Regions from separate parts of the Homo sapiens genome. Here all the other regions are linked to region 2. Evidence: promoter capture Hi-C in 16 types of primary human blood cells and fetal thymus (Javierre and others, 2016). All regions are on one chromosome and are shown on one strand. Each heading gives the region's core, a stretch centred on a gene start or on the middle of the fragment in contact. The rest is flanking DNA. Distances are from core to core; before and after follow the strand shown. Region 1 overlaps CTTNBP2NL (CTTNBP2 N-terminal like). Region 2 holds the start of RHOC (ras homolog family member C). Region 3 overlaps LINC01357 (long intergenic non-protein coding RNA 1357).

Region 1 (3,232 bases), core at 602-3,101, 250 kb after region 2:
CTGCCTCAGCCTTCCGAGTAGCTGGGACTACAGGCGCCCGCTACCACACCCGGCTAATTTTTTGTATTTTTTAGTAGAGACGAGGTTTCACCGTGTTAGCCAGGATGGTCTCAATCTCCTGACCTCGTGATCCACCCGCCTCGGCCTCCCAAAGTGCTGGGATTACAGGCAAGAGCCACCGCGCCTGGCCCTCCCTGTGGTTTTTAAAAGCTCGCCTGCATTATTCTATCAAACTGTTGCCTCTGGACTCACTATGTATCATTTTGTTAATGTTTTGTTTCCCCAACTAGATTGTGAGTACCCTAAGGGCAGGGAACAGGATTAAACTTGTGTCTTCCCTAATAAGCACCTTGCTTTCTGGTTCATCTTAGATACTTAAAAAACATGTTGTTTGAGGGGAATTAATGATGTTTTATTTTTGTTCCATTTATCTGACCTGATGAAGGTCTCCTGGCATTGATTAGGTCTGATGATCCATTTCTGGGGTGGCTGTGGAGCAGCATGGTGTCCCGCATGCATTTTCTAAACTTGCTCTATCTGAAGAATCACCAAGGCATTTATCTAGAGCTCCACCTTTGCCTACTGAAATCAGAATCGCCAGGGGAGGAGCCTGGGAATCTGCTCCTCCCCAGAGACTCTCATTTGGGAAATACTGGTAGTGAAAGAACAAAGCACTAAGGTTTAAATCCTGGCTGTCATATGCTAAGGGCCCTTGCACAGATCTCTGGCCCTCAACTACCTCATCACTACACTGGGGATAATAATACCTCACAGCACCCGTGTGAGGATTAATAAGGTAATATGTATGTGAAATCATTAGCATGGTGCTTGGTACTCAAGTAGGCACTCTTGACTCTGAATATCACTGACATTCTGCCAAACCAGTTTCAGGAGCTTAAGACATTTCCTTAGGTCAGAGGCAAATAGCAAGTTGTTGTGAAAGAACAGGTAAGGGCTATGAAGGACTGTTTCTCAAAACAGACTAGCTGCATCAGCTAGTCTGAGGATCTAATCTCCAGAAATCTTTATTTTAGCAGGCTTCCCAGGTTATACTTACGCACAGTAAAGTTTGAGAACCACTACTCCAGTCTCCTTTCCCCTCCTTTATTTTTACTAATGAATTGGCCACTGATACACAAATGGTGGGTGGACAGGCTCTCATTTCTCAACTAGTTTTATAGAAATTAAATTAAAAATTATTCCTGTGGAACAATGCTCATTGCCCACTTCTGATTCATTAGGAAAACACATCCTATTTTGAAGCCAGTGTTTTGAAAGACAGTTGAAGTTCCATTTCAAGGACTAAGCATCAGAAGCACTCCTTATGAATTCACACACACACACACATACACACACACACACACAAATTGACAAGGCAGCACTGCTGACAGGCTATTAAGGGAAACCGGATATGCTAGTATTTGTTGAAATGATCATTAATTTGCTTAAATGCTGAAAACTTCAGATATGTAAACATCCACACTATTTGAACATTTTTTAGACATCAAAGGATTTTCAAGTGCTTCTCTCTGGCTTGCATTTGCTAACATTGCAGCAGCAACAGCGCTGGAGTAGTTGAAAAGGGATGCATTAATCATTTGTAAAATGAGAGAGCAGAACAAGATTATGCTTTCTTAAGCAGAAATACATGAGCCATGGATGGCTTCAGGGTCTTTGGATCCTATGAAGCCATCAAACAAATTTTGCATATAGGCATATTCATTTTTCTAGGGATAAACTCCATGGCTTTTCTAAGATTCTCAAAAAGGTCCAGAACCACCAAAAGGTTTAAAAAATCACAGACTGGATTATTGTAAAGGCTTTTTCCAGCTCTAAGACTCTAAAGAAAATCAATGTCTTAGTTCCTTATGGAGTCTAACCTGGATGGGTCATTGACTTCATTTGTTTTGTCAAAGCCACAGTCAAGTGCTCCCTCTACACCACCCCCTCTTCCCAACAAAATATGCCCAAATTGTGCCATTTTTCACTTTGTACAAACAAGACTATTTCCCCCCAAACAGCAAGATTTAACTTGTTTTAATGCAGTCTGCTATAAAAATGAAGACTTCTGCATGGTATATTTGGCTTTACAAACGTTAATGCCTAGTTAATGCTTGTGTTATATGGTACACATCATTACAATCTGTTGGCCAGTAACAGCTTTTGCAACATGGGTTAATACTAAAATTGTGAATCATGGAACTTTTACTTAGCACACACACACACAATCTACAGCAAACTTAAATACTAATCTATAATACCTAACTGGGTTATTGGATCCATTGCAAGATTGTGCTTATTTATCTCAGAAGGTAGGCAACTAGCAAAAATACACATTTCTTTCGCATATCCCCACCCCCATATTACACTGTAAAAGAAATACATTATTCAGTGCACTTCCTAAGAAATAAACTTCCTTATAGTATCTCTCTCTATATATATCTATCCCAAAACAAAGGAAGAGCACAATGCAACTTTTAAGATTACCATTTAAAGCAAAAGAGACAATAACTCTCTGGCACTGTAGCCTCCTCTCCAGTTTAGAAAGTTTAGCTATTTTATCAACACTATTCGTTTTGGCTCTGCATAGGAATAAAGTTCAATGCATGATTGCCTTGGACAGTTTAAGATACCCCCTACATCATTTTGATAGACACCTTGGGGCATTAGTAGCATTTTTATTTTTCATGTATTTGCCTTTATCAAACTATAAGCTGTGGAGTTGCCAATATACTCCATTGTGATTTATACACTGATTTCCATCACCTGCCTTTTTACTATCAACTCTTATTAGATTAAAAGGAAATAGACTTAAATTATAGCAGGAGGTCAGGGCTGCTGGATAGATGTTGGCTCAGAGAATGTATGTGAAGACACCAAGGCCTCTCCTGTATGGACACAAAATCATATAACCACTGTGTCTGAGCTGGGTTGTGGATAGTCTTATTTGGCAGAGGGGGATAGCCATTATATTCTATGAACCTTGCCAGCTGTACTGGCCTACACAGTTGGAAAGTTTGGAGGCTTTTGTCCGCATAGACTTGCTATGATGAAAATGACAGAAGTTTCTAGAATGAAAGAGGTTGCAACTTGGCAGCTTGCAAGCTAAATCCAGCTGCAGACGTGTTTGTTTAACCAGCACCATTTAAACATTTTAAAATCACTTCTTGATATTTAAAAATGAGAATGTTTCTCATGAAAATTTGGATTTCAAAAAATGTGAAGAACTGGT
Region 2 (3,132 bases), core at 182-2,681:
ACCCAGCACTAGCTCTGTAACCTCTCTGAACCTCAATTTGCTTCTCAGTAAAATGGAGATAGCTACCTCATGGGATTCTTGTAGTTAATGTATGTGGACCCAGGTCCATGTAATATGGATTCAATAAATGTTAGCTATCTTGAAATTGCATTCCTCATTTAGACTCTAAGTTGTTTGAAGGCAGAAATGGATCTTCCGAACATAGCTCTCAGTTCACCCTCGAGAAATGTTCATTGAGTCAGTTAAGAGGCCTGGGGCCAAACTGCTGCGGACCTGTTTTCACATTTGTCAAATGTCTGGATTGCACTTCAGATATTTAAAGTCTGTATGACTCCTAACATTCATTCATTCATCAAATATTTGTTGACAACCTATTATGTGCCACTCACTCTGCTAGACAACGGGGGAAGGGACAGGCTGGAGGAGCCCGTGAGGTAGCAGGGCCAGACCACCAGTTTGGAGCCAGACAGGCCCGGCTGTGTGAATTCTTGCTGTCACAAGTCAAAAACAGTTGTGTAAGCCACTTGATTTCTCTGAACCTCAGCTTCTCTATGGGCAAAAGGGGATGGGTATATTTTCCCCAGAGATCTGTGATGAATATTGAAAGGGTTAAGCTGTGTAGTGTCCCAAGCACAAGCCAATGAAATGTTGGTGGACGTCCTCATTCTACTCCCACCTCCTCAGCTCCCTTACAGGGAAAGGAGATACGCGTGTAGGTAAATATCCTATGCGCCAAGTCAGACCTAGGAGTGGGAACAGAATTCACAGCTGGGATCCAGAAGCATTTCTAGGCGCACCCTTTGAGGAGTAGGTAGGAATTGGACTCCTGGAAATTCCAGGCCCAGGGAAGAAAGCGAATTGTGAGGAGGAACGGTGGTCTGGGTCTGAACGGCTCTGAGAGGTCTTCAAGTTTGGGGGATGACGTTGGGCTGTACGATCCTAGGAACAAGAGGGTGGACATCTCCCCCCAACCAACACACCCGCGCCGGGCCCTGGGACCTCCCGGCGGATACCCTTTCCCAGTCCCGCTTCCCGCGAGGTCCCAGGTGCAGCAGGAGCGGGTGGCCGCTTGGCCACAGGAGGGCAGCAGCGGCCCTTCCTGACCCCACCCCGAGCACCTCTTAACTTTCCCGACGCCGGTCCTCCCCTAGGGGATTGAAGGCTGGGCAGAGTCTGAGTCCACCCGGGTCGTGCTCCCCCCGCTCGCCCGGCTCCTCCGCAGTCCAGGAATCTCCCCGTGGCTCTCCCCGACCTGGAGGGGTGGACGCCCCTGGCCCCCAGTCCCCGGCCTGCGGAGGGGGCCGGTGGCTGCGGCCCTGCGCGGGGCCGGGGCGGGCCGAGCCAAGGGCCGCCCCCGGCCGACCCTCCCCCTGCCGGGCCCGCCCTCCCCGCCGCGGCGCTGGAGGAGGGCGGGGCGGGGCCCTGGGGTCAGTCTGAGCCTCCGGCACCGGCCGCGCAGCTGGAGGCGGCGGAGCGGAAGGTACCCTGGGCCGGGGCTGCGGGCGGTGGGGCGTCTTGGGAACTCGTCCCCAGGAGAGCACTTTCCCTTCCTCGCTGGCCCGGAGATCGGGGCCCGTGCGAGGAGGGGCTTCGGCCTGGGCGTGGACCCCGTTCCCTCCAAGCGGAGTCGGCATCCGGGCTGGGCGGTGGTCGGACCGCGTCGGCCCCTCCCCGGGCTGCAGCGAGGGGGCCCGGACCTGCCGGCAGGGGCTCTGGCCTCCTGAGGTCCGAGTCGGAGCCCCTTCCCTTCTCCTCCCAGCTTCCCGGAACCTGCCCCGCCGGGCGAGGGGCGAGGGAACTTCAACTCAGACGCCCCAGCCCCCAGGGTGGGCGGCCGCAGGGGACCTAGAGTGGGATGGGGTGGGAATTCCTCCAGGCCAGGAGGGAGGTATGGCGGGAATAGGGGCGGGATGTGACCATTGGGGCCTGCCACTGCTCGGCAGGGTCTGGACGCCGCCCTGGACGGTTCCTGGAGCCCGCTTGTGTTGAGGATAAGGGAGATGGGGAAGGATCCAACTCTGTGTGTGTGTGTGTGTGTGTGTGTGTGTGTGTGTGTGTGTGTGTGTGTGTGTGTGTGTGTGTGTGTGTGTGTGGTGTGTGTGTGTGTGTGTGTGTGTGTGTGTGTGTAGAGAGAGAGAGAGAGAGAGAAAATGAGATTGAGAATCCTCCTTCTTCATACTCGAACCAAGAAAGAGTATCCTGGGGTTTGGGACTGGGATCCCGAGGCCGAGTCCCGCCCTCACTCTGGTTTTAAAGTTGAGAATGCAGTATCTCTTGGTATCTCCAGAACGGATTCCTTCCCTAGGTGTAGGGTGGGCCGGCAAAGTCAACCGGCCGCTCTGGATCATCTGGGAATTCAAGAGAGCGATTGGAGAGAGGTCTGATGTAGCCACACTGTCTTGTCTTGGGGAAGGCCCCAGAAGTTCCAGGCTCCATTCCAGGCCCTGTGTGGGGCTCAGTTGCCCCTCTTAAGGGGTCAGTGGGACAGTCCCTCTGGGGCTGCCTCTCACAGGGAGTTGTCCATGCCATCTTGGCCTTGGGCCTAGTGTCCTGGCCTGGGCTGCCTGCTGTTCTGGCCCAATCATAGCCTGGAGGGAAAGTCTTCTAATTGGGCTGGAGGCTCCAGGTCCCTTAACGCATGCCTCAACCCCGGGTTTCTGTCCTCTGCCTCCCACCACTCTGGTGCCGTCTGAATTACCCTGCTGGGGGGACAGCAGTGGCATACTCATGCCTAAGTGACTGGCTTTCACCCCAGTAGTGATTGCCCTCCATCAACACTGCCCACCCCAGGTTGGGGCTACCCCAGCCCATCTTTACAAAACAGGGCAAGGTGAACTAATGGAGTGGGTGGAGGAGTTGGAAGAAATCCCAGCGTCAGTCACCGGGATAGAATTCCCAAGGAACCCTCTTTTTGGAGGATGGTTTCCATTTCTGGAGGCGATCTGCCGACAGGGTGAATGCCTTCTTGCTTGTCTTCTGGGGAATCAGAGAGAGTCCGTTTTGTGGTGGGAAGAGTGTGGCTGTGTACTTTGAACTCCTGTAAATTCTCTGACTCATGTCCACAAAACCAACAGTTTTGTGAATGTGTCTGGAGGCAAGGGAAGGGCCACTCAGGATCTATGTTGAAGGGAA
Region 3 (3,488 bases), core at 289-2,788, 170 kb before region 2:
GGTGCCAGGCCTGTGCCAGGCTGTGAGGAAGACAGGGTAGTGCAGACCCTGTCCCTGCCTTCTGAACAGATCAGGTCTAGATTGAGGAGGTGAGCAACCTCAACAGTCCTAGGGGCATGTGTTTGTCCCACATTCGAAGTTCTGCAGCGCTCCGTGAATGATGGAGCCATTGGGACATAGTAGGACAGTCACCCAGTGGCCTGGACACTCCTCTTCTGATTGCAGCCTGGTCATACCAGACATTTCTAGATACTTTCTGAGGCATCTCCAGCCTAATCTTGACCCTGTGGCCTCCCTTCCAGTAGCCCAAGCCCCCAAGCTGGGTTGTGCTACGTTGGAGCTGTGATGCCTCCTGGCTGGAAGGAGAGGCTGCTGATTTGCTTGGGAATTATTCCAGGGGTTCTGAAGCTTCAGGATATGAAAATCAGGAATTGTTGAAACACAGATACAGCCCTTCCTAGAGGTTATAGTTTCCTGCCCTGTCTGGAACTAACAGACTAACAGGGGAGACAGAATTAATAGTAAATTCACACATCTGGGGAATGCCCCAAAGGACCAGGAGAGGATGCAAGGGTGAGGGAGAGGGGATATTGGATAGGCCATCCTGCCCTGCTCTGAGAGGCTGGGTGGGCAGGAGTTAGGGGGTGGCTCTGCACTGAAGGAAGGAAAGTCTGAGTTCACCAGGCAAAGAAGGTGCCCAGGGAAGGGCTCCTGAGAAGGCTGAGAAGCAGGAAGGAGCCCTCCCTTAGCTCTCAGAATAAAGGTCCCACTTCCCTCTATGCCTGGCATAAAGTCTGGGGAGGTGAGTGAGGCGCAGCCCAGTTGTAGGATTGAACCCTGGGTGAGGAATCAAGTCCTGGGGGCCAGTCAGAGGTGTATTATAACCTGTGCGACTTGGCTTTCTAACGGCCAAATGGGGTTTCAGACTCACAAACTCCAACTTCTGCAGCCCTGAGAGATGGTGCCACCCTCTCAACTTGCAGGTAAGGACATGAAGGCCAGCAGAGAGCCACTGCACGACAGCAGAGCTCAGGACCCCTCTCCTGGTCTGTCGGCTGTGTTGGGCTCCTGCATCCCCAGAGGTTTCAGGGACTTCACGGGGTGGCAGGAGAACTGAGAGATAAGTAAATGACGCAGCGGTCATGGGAAGCAGAGAACGTCTCACAGCAGTGCGAGCTTTGTCTCCCTCTGGCGTGGTGGTGGCTGGGAGGTGGTGAGAGGGTCTGGGTCTCAGATCACCAGCTGTGACACAAGCCCTGTGAGCTTGGGCAAGTAAAAGGCTGCATTTGTAGAAAAGAAACTCTTTTGATTCCATTGTGAAAATGGTTTCCCTTTCTTTGGTTAGAACCCAGCCAGATTTAATTTCCAGGAGCCAGAGCCAAAGAGAAAATCATTCAGGGCAGAGATAACTCTTCTCTAAGACGTCTAGCCTTGGGCAGAGACAGGAGAGAAATACAGACTTCCAAGCCAAGGCCCAGGCATATTTAAAATATTAATATTTTAAAAGGTCTGGATTTAGGATAGAAGCAAAGAAGGGCTAAATAATTCAGAAAGCAAATTGAGGAGCAGCTGTTGCTGATGCTAACTGAGGTTCTTGCCTGGCTGGTTTCAGAGCAGCATCCTCAGCCTCCTGGGAGAAAGAGCACAAGTTGTCATGATGGGGGAAGACAAAGGCTGGAGGGAACACAAAGCCAGCCTTAAGTGCAGCCCGACTGGCTTTGTTTCTCAAGACACTCATATTACTAGCAGCTTAAAACAACAAACATTTATTATTTCACACAGTGGCTGATGGTCAGGTATCTGGGTTCTAAGTTGCTGGGTTTTCTGGCTCAGAGTCTCTCATGAGGTTTCAATCAAGATGTCTTTCGGGGCCATTGAAGGTTTGATTGAGCCTAAAGAATCAAAGACAGACATGCTGTTACATAATAAGCCAAAGTTATATTAACTCTATATTGGCCCTATATTTTTTATTGCTTCACAGCAGACTGGTATCATTGCCTCAAAAGTTTACCAGTGCCAAGCTCAAATTTTTTATACACCCAATTGCTTTAAATATAGTCTAAATAAACAGATCGTTAGTCATTGACAGCCTTCCGGTTTTGCATACCCCACAAAACAGAATCCCACATTTACTAGCCACAGATACAATAAACTCTGGTGCTATAAAAGGCCCCAGTTGCCGGGCATGGTGGCTCACAACTGTAATCCCAGCACTTTGGGAGGCTGAGGCTGGTGGATCATGAGGTTAGGAGATCGAGACCATCCTGGCTAACACGGTGAAACCCCGTCTCTACTAAAAATACAAAAAATTAGCCGGATGTGGTGGCACGCACCTGTAGTCCCAGCTACTCAGGAGGCTGAGGCAGGAGAATGGCATGAACCTGGGAGACGGAGCTTGCAGTGAGCAAAGATCACGCCACTGCACTCCAGCCTGGGCCATAGAGGGAAACTCTGTCTCAAAAAAAAAAAAAAAAAAAAGCACCAGCCATAGCTGCCCTTTGGATCTCTCTGACTCTGAGACTCCACACCCTACTACTGAGGGCATCATCTAGACATCTAAGGATCCGCTCCAATCTCCGTGTCCCCCAGAATCTCCCCCACCCTCCTTCTCTTCTAGCTGGTGGCCTCAGTCATTACCTGCGGAAGGTCTCATGCTGTGAAAAGCTTCCTCAGCAGGCAACCCTGTCAAAACACGGCCCAAATAAAGCTTGTTGTATGTTATTACCACCTCATAGCCATATCTTTTTCTTTTTTTTTAATTTTTATTTTAGGTTTGGGGGTACACGTGAAGGTTTGTTACACAGATAAACGAGTGTCACAGGGGTTTGTTGTACATACTATTATTATATATCACCCAGGTATTAACCCCCAGTACTCAATAGTTATCTTTTCTGCTGTTCTTCTCCTTCCCAACCTCCCTCCTCAATAGACACCAGTGACTGTTGTTTCCTTGTGTTCATAAGTTCTCATCATTTAGTTCCCACTTACAGGTGAGAACATGCAGTATTTGGTTTTCTGTTCCTGCATAATTTTGCCAAGAATGATAGCCTCCAGCTCCATTCATATTCTGGCAAAAAAATCTTGTTCTTTTTTATGGCTGCATGGTATTCCATGGTGCACATGTACCACATTTTCTTTATCCAGTCTGTCACTGGTGAGCATTTAGGTTGATTCCATGTCTTTGCTATTGTGAGTAGTGCTGCAATGAACATTCACATGCATGTGTCTTTATGGTAGAACGCTTTATCTCCCTCTTGGTATATACCCAGTAATGAGATTGCTGGGTCGAATGATAGTTTTGCTTTTAGCTCTTTGAGGAATTGCCACACTGCTTTCCACAATGGTTGAACTAATTTACACTCCTACCAACATCATAACATCATATAAGGCTTCCCTATTCTCCATACAATCTCGCCAGCATGTGTTATTTTTTGACTTTTTTCTTTTCTTTTCTTTTCTTTTTTTTTTGAGACAGAGTCTCCCTCTGT

What was found. The method cuts DNA at HindIII sites, captures the fragments that hold promoters and counts their contacts. A CHiCAGO score of 5 or more calls a contact.
Region 1: a fragment that was not itself captured here is called in contact with the fragment with the promoter of RHOC in region 2 in 2 of 17 cell types (total B cells and naive B cells); the score reaches 7.3 in total B cells.
Region 3: a fragment that was not itself captured here is called in contact with the fragment with the promoter of RHOC in region 2 in 1 of 17 cell types (endothelial precursors); the score reaches 5.9 in endothelial precursors.

What each region holds. Positions count from the first base shown.
Region 1 is chr1:112,459,021-112,462,252 of GRCh38, reverse strand. CTTNBP2NL (CTTNBP2 N-terminal like) reads right to left here. Exons shown (of 6, transcript NM_018704.3): 6 at 1,089-3,232. It overlaps MIR4256 (microRNA 4256), which reads left to right and starts at 420; the gene lies at 420-483. The HindIII fragment of the contact is 4,916 bases long and covers 1-3,232 here.
Region 2 is chr1:112,705,426-112,708,557 of GRCh38, reverse strand. It overlaps RHOC (ras homolog family member C), which reads left to right and starts at 1,431. Exons shown (of 6, transcript NM_175744.5): 1 at 1,431-1,480. RefSeq lists a silencer at 992-1,711 and an enhancer at 2,971-3,020. The HindIII fragment of the contact is 12,151 bases long and covers 1-3,132 here.
Region 3 is chr1:112,876,134-112,879,621 of GRCh38, reverse strand. LINC01357 (long intergenic non-protein coding RNA 1357) reads right to left here. Exons shown (of 2, transcript NR_189282.1): 2 at 1,751-1,892. Among named protein-coding and RNA genes, the nearest start is that of MIR11399, 4.2 kb to the left of the region's middle. RefSeq lists an enhancer at 770-1,367. The HindIII fragment of the contact is 2,256 bases long and covers 411-2,666 here.